Linked DNA regions of Homo sapiens: region 1 is linked to region 2. The links are contacts of gene promoters, found by promoter capture Hi-C in blood cells and fetal thymus (Javierre and others, 2016). All regions are on one chromosome and are shown on one strand. The core of a region is centred on a gene start or on the middle of the fragment in contact, and the rest is flanking DNA. Distances in the headings are between cores, read along the strand shown.

Region 1 (4,973 bases), core at 1,171-3,670, 3.7 Mb before region 2:
TAATATTGCTCCCCCCTTTTATTTTTATGGTTTGAATTTTAACAGTATAAATGATAATGACATTGCATTTTAATTTGGATCTTATACGCTTCTCTCTTTATAAATGTGGATAACGTAAGTGAACATTGCTCAAATGAATTCTGGATGTGTATATATATATAGATATAGATATATACATATATACACACACACACACAATGCATATATATGTGGACACCATCTACTAACATTTTTATGAAACAAATGACAGTTTACATACTGCATTATTGCACAGATGTAGTTTTTAATAAAGGCTTAAATTTAAGCTTCAAAATAGGGTAAGATGTGGTGTGGAATGTTGAACAGTATATAAAACTGTAGTTGGTAATATTTTATTTGTTAAATGAATCAGGCTTGGGTTTGACACTTACTCACTTCTCATGTTAATTTCAACATGGCTACCCAGTTGTGAGATACACCTTTCACTACTCCTATCCCATTTCAAAAATATATGTGAGCATTTCCATAAAGCATTGTGTCCTAACTCAAAGCAGGTAGCATGGAGATATTGGTTCTGTGGAACTTTTCTTCAAATTGCAATCTGCCTTTCCTAACTGCAACATGCACAGATCCGTCCTTATATCCACTGCAAGGGACATCACAGAAAAATGGAAAGAAATGTAGCAAACAGAAAATGAAGAGAGAGAGAAGATAATGTGTAATCAGCTGGGGAAAGACTTCTGAGGTAATTCTCATATGCTTGCTCATCAGCCACCATTTTGAGAACTATTATTCTCAGCAAATATCTTACCAAGCAAATACTTTATCTTTCAGAATATGCAGTTTGTTTATTCCCATGTTTGTACAAATTACTGTGGTTATTCTTTTATCTCCTGAAAATACATATCTTTCATGGGTATCAAAATTCAGTTTCAAATTCCCTTCATGCAGTAGGCCTCTATTGATACAGTAAACTAAATTTTGACTATTCTCTCAAATACTCCTGCACACTATTTACTTTATGCTGATTTGAGTATGTTGGAATATTTTACCCTAAGTGTCCTTCAGTCATTTTGCCTATTGGTGCCAAGAATTCTGGCTTTTCAATTATGTTGTAAGCACTTGAGAGCACAGATTGTCTTCAGTCTTTCGTAGCCCAGTGTCTAGGACCATATTTTGCACAGGTAAGGGCAATACATTCCGATCAAACTTCTGAGTTTCGTGAATCTTTTCCTGTTACTAAAATAGCCACATTACTACCTTTCTTCCCATTATTTTCAACACAGAGCCTGGGCAACAATAAACACTAAATAAATATTTGTTGAATAAATGAATGGACAGAGTTTTAAATATGTGTGGCCTATGGATTCTTGCAAAAGTTGAAAGTCCTGTGTATGTAACCCAGAGAAATGATGAAAAGAAATGGAGTTTGGAGTGTAAGAGAGGTGGTAAGAAATGTGACAGTATGAGAAATGACTTCTTTTACTTTTCTTAAATTTGATTATTGGCAATATACATGGTGTCTAAATAAGCAAGATACAAGCTGACTAAACAAAGAAGGCAGAGGAAAATGAGTAATATGAGCATGTCTCCAAGGAGAAACTAGGGGGAAGAAAGTAGGAAGGAAGGAAGCGAGGGAGGGAGGGGAAGAGTTACAAGATGTATTCATAGCTCCTCAGCAGTAGACAAAGCAGAGAAAGGAGCATAGCCAATACTATTCAGGTGCGGTGTTAGAAAGCTTTTGCTCAGTTGCTTAAATGTTTATAAATAAGAGCAATAATTTAGTGGGCTCTATTGATGTATTCTTTGTTATCATTGCTTAACAGCAGGTTCTACCACTTCACTGCAAATTTTACTAGAATGTTAATCCAGCCAAGATTATTAAAATAAAACAGGGCATATATAAAAGTATTATACATATTGCCTTCCTTTAAAAAGAAGAGCTGTTTAAATACATTTTTGTCTGTTCTATACAAGACAAATGTATAATAATTAACACTTGGAGTGTCAGGATTTGTGTAGTTATATCCCTTTCAGTTCTAACTCTGTTGTGGACAAAGGTGAGGAGTAATTAGATTATCAACAAAGGATTGCAGATACTCATACAAATTAATATATGAAATATATTTCTGCCTTGTAGGATCCAAATTTTAATGCATGTCAAACTGCATTTTCACTTAGGTAATGTGAGGCCTTACAAAGAGAAGAATATGCATCTGTATTCTTATTAAACTTTGATTCTTGAAATGCTATGATCACGTTCTCTTCTAGCTTACTGAAAATGTATAGTAATCAACCAGAGTTTAATTGATGGTAAATTTAACCCAAAGAGAAATATTTAAGGCAGTTGTAAGAACAAAGACATACTTTATACAATAAACGGAAGGTAAATATTTTTATTAAAGATATGAATATCCATATAAAAATTCAGAGTGCTTTTTGGGTCTGGAAGTTTGGCACTTTATTCCTACACCTTAGTTGTCTTGAATGTTTGACTTTGTGTTGAAATTGTATATTTTCATTGTCATTTTACATTGTCCTTGAAATATGCTTGTGTTTGAATTCTAATCTTATTAGGGAAAAAATAATTCTAAACTTCATATTTACATTTTTAATGCATTTAGAGTCTAATTTAATTATTTTAGAGGTTATTTTGCAGAAGTACTGTGTTAAAGGGATTGCAGAATTTCAAACTATTGTCACAGAAATTAATGGCATGTAGCCCAGTATGTCTTAGAATGTAACATAGGAATATCTTCCTTGTCAATAGAATCAGGGATGTAGGGCTAATAAATTCTTCAGACATAAAATAGGTTTGTATAAAATTGACACCTAAAATACGATCACTTAGGAAGATGTAATATATTGGAATTGTAAAGTAAAAAATATGAATATGCATAGTTATGTGTACACATATGCTACAAAATTTTATTACTATTTTCATTAATAAAAATGCTATGACAAAATATTAAAAGGTTAATATACAACATACAAAAGATATGAACATGAGACATAAATTAAGTTTCATATCTTAACCCCCTGTAAAAGTCAGTAAACCTTTTAACTTGAATTTTTCTGAATAATTAACTGTGTTGGGCTGAGAGAATACCTGGTGATAATTAATAACTTCCAGGAAAAGCTTCTCCATGTCTTAAACATGTTGACAGTCAGACTTAAGTTTTATTAGAGCATTATAAATTACTATTACCTAAGAAACATAAAAAGTCATTTACATTGCATATTAAAATGTTCTTTTTTGTTTGATTGTTTATAATTCTGATTATAATATGATCAGATTGTTTGAAGAAGTTGATGATCTCCTATGATATGCATATTCCACTCTGAGTCAATATTTTCCATGAATTATGCTCCTATCTTAAAAGACCAACTTGCCAAAAACAAATGAAGACTAGATAAAGAAAAATTCAATAACTATGATTCTCTTTAAAGTGCTTACTGTAGGGATTTAGATTTCCTCTGCCTCTTGCTATTATCAAGTGAAGTGACAACTAGATAGAAAAAATACTACTGTAGCCTGTAATCTCATCCTTTTGTCCATGTTTTCCCAATAACACTACTATGGTTTAATAAAAAGCTAAGTATAAAAAGGAATCTCACAGATAACCACAGATAATAGGTCTCACTGCTAAATACCCAATTTTCCATATGAAAACAAGACATAGGATACCATAATGAGTAGAGCTATGATAATTCAGTTTGGTTTTTCAATAGTTCCAGCTATCTACCACATTCTAGAATGTGTGGAATAAGGCTAAACTGCAGAGGGATGTCTTCATAATCCAGTTACCACTTCATAAGAAAGGGGAGAATGAAGACCTATATTAAGAAAATGGGACCTCTACTAATGACAATTCTTCAGTTTACCCTTTTGAGTCTCAAACTCTGTAAGACATCATAGTGAAGGCTATCCTGACTATTTCAATAACCTCACAGAAAGACCTTAACTCATACCTTAAGAAAATTTCAGACCCTGCAATATCTCAAACCTTTAAAAATGAATTGCAGCTGAAGGCATGGAAGGACTGTTATTACTCTCCTGGCATATTAATTTAGGTTGATATTGATAAATATTTCCTGAGAGTACATAGATAATGGAAAATACCTAATTACATATAAATATGGCAACAGAGTATATAGCCTAGCAAATAAAGTAAGTTTAGCAAATAATTGATTTCCCCAGGCCCATATCTTAGCTAGTGAGAGTAAAGTGTATGAGTGTGACATTTCCTGTTTGACAGAATGGGTCATAAGGAACTTTTATGGGAAAGATGTGGTTCAACAGTCTTGATATGTATAACATGTTCAGTAATAATCGGCCTCTTTTCTCTCCTCCCAATGCTTTTATCCCCAACCGACACACACACTGCTTCAACATACACACACATTATGTGCTTTCTTGACTGTTTTAAAATTACTTTTTCACTTTCAAATTATTTCAATCTGATTTAAAATGATGATATACACTGTGGGTAGGCCTCCTGAATATCCCCCAGCTCTACTTGTGGAGATATTTGAATGAAAAAAAAAAAGTGAAACTAAAGTAAGTCAATGGGTGTTTGATATATGAAATTAGAGAGAAGAATTTTTGCATATTGAGTGACTGATATTTTAAATTTTATCCAGAATTTTGATGTTAAAAATAGGCACAGATACAATAATTTTGACATTATAAAACATGCTTAGACAACCTAATTTAATAACTAAATTAGGTTGTTTTCTTCATGTAATCATGAATGTAATAAAACAACTCTTTAAGAATTGTTATCTTAGAATATTTTAAAATGTGATCTAAAATTTGAAGACACTTCTAAATACTAATAATACCAAAAATGAGCTAGATTCTTTGTTCTTTATTATGTGTATGTGGTAGAGACCTTAAAGTTGTGTTTTAGGAAAAGTTTCAACTGAATTTGAAAGTAACTTAAATTGTTATGGCTGTGTGTATGTAGATGCAGGGGTTCCTTGAATGTGCA
Region 2 (5,033 bases), core at 2,033-4,532:
TGGTATTTCTACAGGCTGCTGGTATTCACTGAGGAATTTCTAAATATCCTAGTGAATCTGTAGCCTTCCTTCAGTACCTTTAAGCACTTACAGAACCAGGGATTTCCTGGGGCAGAAAGCCTTCTTTACTGATACACCTATGGAATTACAGAATTTCTGAGCTTGAAAAGAGCTATAAAGCCACTCATAACTACAAATCTTCTTCGATAGTAAACAAGATATAAATAAATATCTAGTTCATTTCCTTCAATTTCCAGGTGAAAGAAAATGACTTGCCCAATGTCATTATTATAAGCTTGATTACTTCTGTTTTAATTAAGTTGTCTTCCCACCACTGACACTGCCTCTGATTTCAGAGTGAGCCAAGGGATATATTAAATTCTTCTTAGCAGGCATACTATCCACCTAAACTGAATATTCAGAGAATTGCCTGCTCTAGTTAGTTCCATCTAATACAAAATTATTTGCATCCAAAGGAAGTAGGCTAACATGAGCATGTACAGGAAGGGTATCTCTATACCCTTCCCCAGAGACTATACTCTGTGGCTGCTTGTCACTAGGTCAGCTAGGTGACCAATGAGAGATGGAAAAGCTGTGTGACAATCTGTGTGCCTGCATGCATGTGTGCAGTGTTCCCAGGTAAGTTTAAAATTTCTCAATTGGCTGTTTATAAAGTTAACATATTTATATCAAATATAATGTGCTTTATCAAGTATTTACATTTTTAAAATTGACTCATCTGCAAGAATCTAGTCTTTAAGTAGCAAATTGCTCTCCTGAAAAATGATGCAGAATGTCCCTTGAGTTTTGACATGAATGAATTACCTACCTTTCTCTCCTTTGTAGCCTCTAGGGCCTTGGGGCCCAACAACTCCTGGTGGCCCTGGGATCCCCAAATTTCCAGCCTCTCCTTTAGGACCTAGAAATGGGATTTTAAATACATCAGAATATAAAATTTCTCTTTTAAAGTTCATTAGTTCAGGAAAGAAAAAAAGCATTTTACTGCAATCAATAAGTATCAATGACCTAATGGTAAAATCTGAGTAAGAATAAACCACACAGAGTCCTAAGGGCAATATTTTTGTCTGATTTGCAATTTCGTACTACCTGAATAGATAAATTGAGACCATTAGTACTTGTCACTGTATTCATGGCAGTGATCAAATGATTCAGGGAAGCAGCACTATATCAAACAAGAACAAAATGATAATCTGACACTTAACCTCATATGGACCACACTTTCACATTGGAAGTAAAAACAACACCTAGCACCTTTGGATTTCCCTTTTATTCACTTACTCATTCATTCATTAACTATTTCTGAGGCATCCTATACACCAAGCACCCTGCAAGGTGTTAGGAATGCAGCCATCAACATTCCAGCAGTCCCTACTCTCATGAAGCTGAGAGTCTATGAAAGATAAACATTTAACAAATAGCCACACAAATACGTAGAAATTGTCACATTGTAGTAAATGATATAAAGAAAAATACGAAGGTCTTATTGAGGACTTAACTGATGAGATCAGAGGCTTCCTTGAGAAAATGGTATTAAGCTAAGACCCAAAGAATAGATTAAGATTTCCCAAAGCAGAGTAGCTTCCCTAAGTAGGACCAAGATAGTCTCAGCATTCTAAGCTCTCAAGCACTATGCTCTGTGGCAGAACCAGTCAGACTAAGACATATGAGCTCCCCAGGCAGGGTAATAACTTGGCACACCTTGGAATTATTTGTCATATATATTTAGAGGAGAGAATGAACCCTGAGAACAGCACAGCTAAATCCACCACTGGGTAAAACAAAAGCCCTGATGTTACAGAACTCACAGCCTTAGCAAATAGTTTAGCAACCAGCTGTGTCTACTTGACCATGCCCTTGGGATTTTCACCGCCAAGCAGCTTACCAGCCAGATAGGATACTAAGACTTCTGGTAAATATAATTTTCTCAGTCTCATTAAATTTTCAGTAATGTTTTAGCAATCCTGACATCTTGGTACCCAAGCTACGGCCCATCTCCTTTACTCCTTAATGCAGCTCTGCATAAATACTAACCGCATTTCCCAAAAGGTCCCTACAAAGGGATGAAATGAATGAAAAGCTTGGTGAAGATGTATAATTGCTTAGTTTATAACATTAAATTCCTCAGGCAATGGTGAATTTTAAGTTGACATTCTGATCTTAACTTTACCTTGAATTCTCTTCTAGATGACATGTAAAAGCTGAAATGTATTAGAATAAAGCCAAGACTATATTCATTATGTATATATTATAGACATCTGAAATCTTGAAATACATAACCATGGTGTTCAATGGAGAAAATCATTGGGCAATGACACAGTATTGCCTCAGAAATTCAATGAGAAGCAAATGGAATCCTAAGCTTTATTCTCCACCTCAGAGCCATTCCATTTCTAATCCTAACTACAAATAGCACTCAGAAAATCCATCAGTCAGCACACATTCTTGCAAGGCAACAGAAGTTTCATTTACCCTTTTTAAATCAGCCACTAATTTAAAAAATTGTACTGGTAATAAACCTGTGCATCTTGAAGAACCAGAGCACCATGCTGGAGTTGGTAATTCCTGACTTTGCTCTCACCAGCACTGTCCAGTAGAATTGTCTACAATGATGGAAATGCTATCTGTGCTGCCCAATACAGTGGCTGTTGAGCACTTGAACTGTGGCTAATGTGACTGATGAACTGAATTTTTTACCTTATTCAATTTTAATTTTAATATTTATTAATTACCACATTGGGCAACACAGCACCCATTTACATTTGTAACAATGTGACACCTAGACCTGTTACTATTTGCATAACAACGTAGAAACTCCTGGGGCAATTTCACCCGACAACCTACCTCTCAACTCTACCAATGTACAAGTGAGAAACATGACTTCTTATATTTTCTAATACCTGGCTGTCCAGTCTCTCCAGGTTCTCCTTTCTGCCCGGGTACAGGTGAACAACAATCACAACAATTCAAAAAGAAATCAGCTGGGTCAAGAGTGAAGTTTTCAAAGGGAGAGAGAGTGGCAGTGCCAAAGACAGAATCCAAGGCCGAGGGTTTGGTAATTGGTTCTGCCATTTCAGCCATTTCTGTGAAGAGGGTTTCTTCTTCTTCTGGAGGTGGGCCACTGGATGGCTTTAGACCCTTTGGCATCTCTCTTTCCTCAGATTTCTTCGTAAATTTGGTATGTGGTGTGGTCTTTGCTATTGTGTTCATACCAGCAATAGCCAAAATAATTAAAATAGCACAAAGCCAAGAAAACATCCACATATTTGAAGCTGGAAGAAAGATATAATAGGAAAATATATACATATTATGTGAGGTCCAAATGAAAAGACTAAGTCATATAAACATATACTCATATAAAAGAAATATATATGTATATGAATCATAAGAATGAATGATATGCATAATATAGAATGATATATTTTCAATATATTTTACATGTAAATGTGTACTTGAATCACTACAGAATATTTTATGTACTTATTTATTATAAAGAACACTTTACTTCCATTCATCTTTCTGGTTATTTTCTTAGTATTATATATTGTTCCCAACTATTCAAACTATCTGGCCAAATAGCAAACATGATCTACAATAAATACAACATGACTCAATAGCTCATATACCCTGTGGAAGATAAATGTGTATAATTTCCTCACTGATTTCACTCAGATTTATAGAAATCAAATACATTTGTATTAGAGGGAGATGAAAAATATTGAACTGAGTAGTTTATTCCAGCAAACTCAATTATTTCAAGAAAAAATATGGTGAAATAGTCCTTAAATCTACTAAGGATAATGGTCCTGTTGTGAGAGCAATTTTTTAAAATCTATTTTAATAAGTGAAGAGAGAGACAATTAAAAATAATAAATTTGAATATATGCTACATTCTTAGATTCTTCACATGGCATTTAACTCTCCACCTCTTTGCTTTGTAATTTGGGGAGTTTTTCTAGAAATTCATGTTTATTCTTGTATTATTTTAATGGGGCAAAATGTGGTTATTCTAAAAAGAGCTTTGGCAATGTCCAAAGTGATATGATGTAAGGTTTCTAATGAGGTGAAATTTTGATAGTTCAGAGTATTCCATTCCAAATCAACTCCCAGTAGTCTAAGGGGTGCTAACAGATAGCCAGGGTTATAAATCCACATTTCCTGATAGGAGAAGGCAGCCATAATTAAGATAAATAGTAAGAGAGTAAATAGAATGGAAATAAAGAGATTAAAAAGGTCTACTGTTTATACAGTCCCTACTCTGAGTAGATGCCGTACATTAATCAATCCAATCAGGTCTCACAACAGCTCTCCATTCCCCCTTGAGAACTGGAACATGACGATGATGCTCTCTCTCACCACTCCTATTCAACATAGTACTGAAAGTGCTAGCCAGAGCAATCAGACAAGAGAAAGAAATAAATGGCATTCAAATAGGAAAAGAAGAAGTCAAACTCTCTCTCTTTGCAGAAAATATTATTCTATACCTAGAAAACCCTAAAGACTGCCAAAATTCTCCTGGGACTGATAAATAATTTCAGCAAAGTTTCAGGAAAGAAGGTCAATGTACAAAAACGAGTAGAATTTCTGTACACCAATAACATTCAAGCTGGGAGTCAAATCAAGATTGTAATTCCATTTACAATGGCCACGAAAAAAAATACCTAAGAGTACATCTAAGGAAGGAAGTAAGAGATCTGGAGAACTACAAGAAGAACTACAAAACACTGCTGAAAGAAGTCAGACATGACACAAATAAATGAAAAAACATTCCATGCTCATGGATTAGAAGAATCAATATTGTTAAAGTGGTCATACTGCCCAAAGCAATTGATAGATGCAACACTATTCCTTTCAATCTATCAATGTCACTTTTCATATGACTAGAAAAAACTACTCTAAAATTCATGTGGGTCCAGAAAAAGAGCCCTAATAGCCAAAGCAATCCTAAGCAAAAAGAACAAAGCCAAAGGCATCACATTACCTGATTTCAAACTATACTGTAAGGCTACGATAAC

What was found. Contacts are between HindIII fragments. The CHiCAGO score rates a contact against its expected background, and 5 or more counts as called.
Region 1: a contact is called between a fragment that was not itself captured here and the fragment with the promoter of OTOL1 in region 2, in 1 of 17 cell types (endothelial precursors). The highest score is 9.7, in endothelial precursors.

What each region holds. Positions count from the first base shown.
Region 1 is chr3:165,175,330-165,180,302 of GRCh38, reverse strand. No RefSeq gene overlaps it. Among named protein-coding and RNA genes, the nearest start is that of SLITRK3, 19 kb to the left of the region's middle. The HindIII fragment of the contact is 1,401 bases long and covers 1,720-3,120 here.
Region 2 is chr3:161,495,057-161,500,089 of GRCh38, reverse strand. OTOL1 (otolin 1) reads right to left here and starts at 3,282. Exons shown (of 4, transcript NM_001080440.1): 1 at 2,919-3,282; 2 at 830-919. The coding sequence starts at 3,282. The HindIII fragment of the contact is 10,143 bases long and covers 2,383-5,033 here.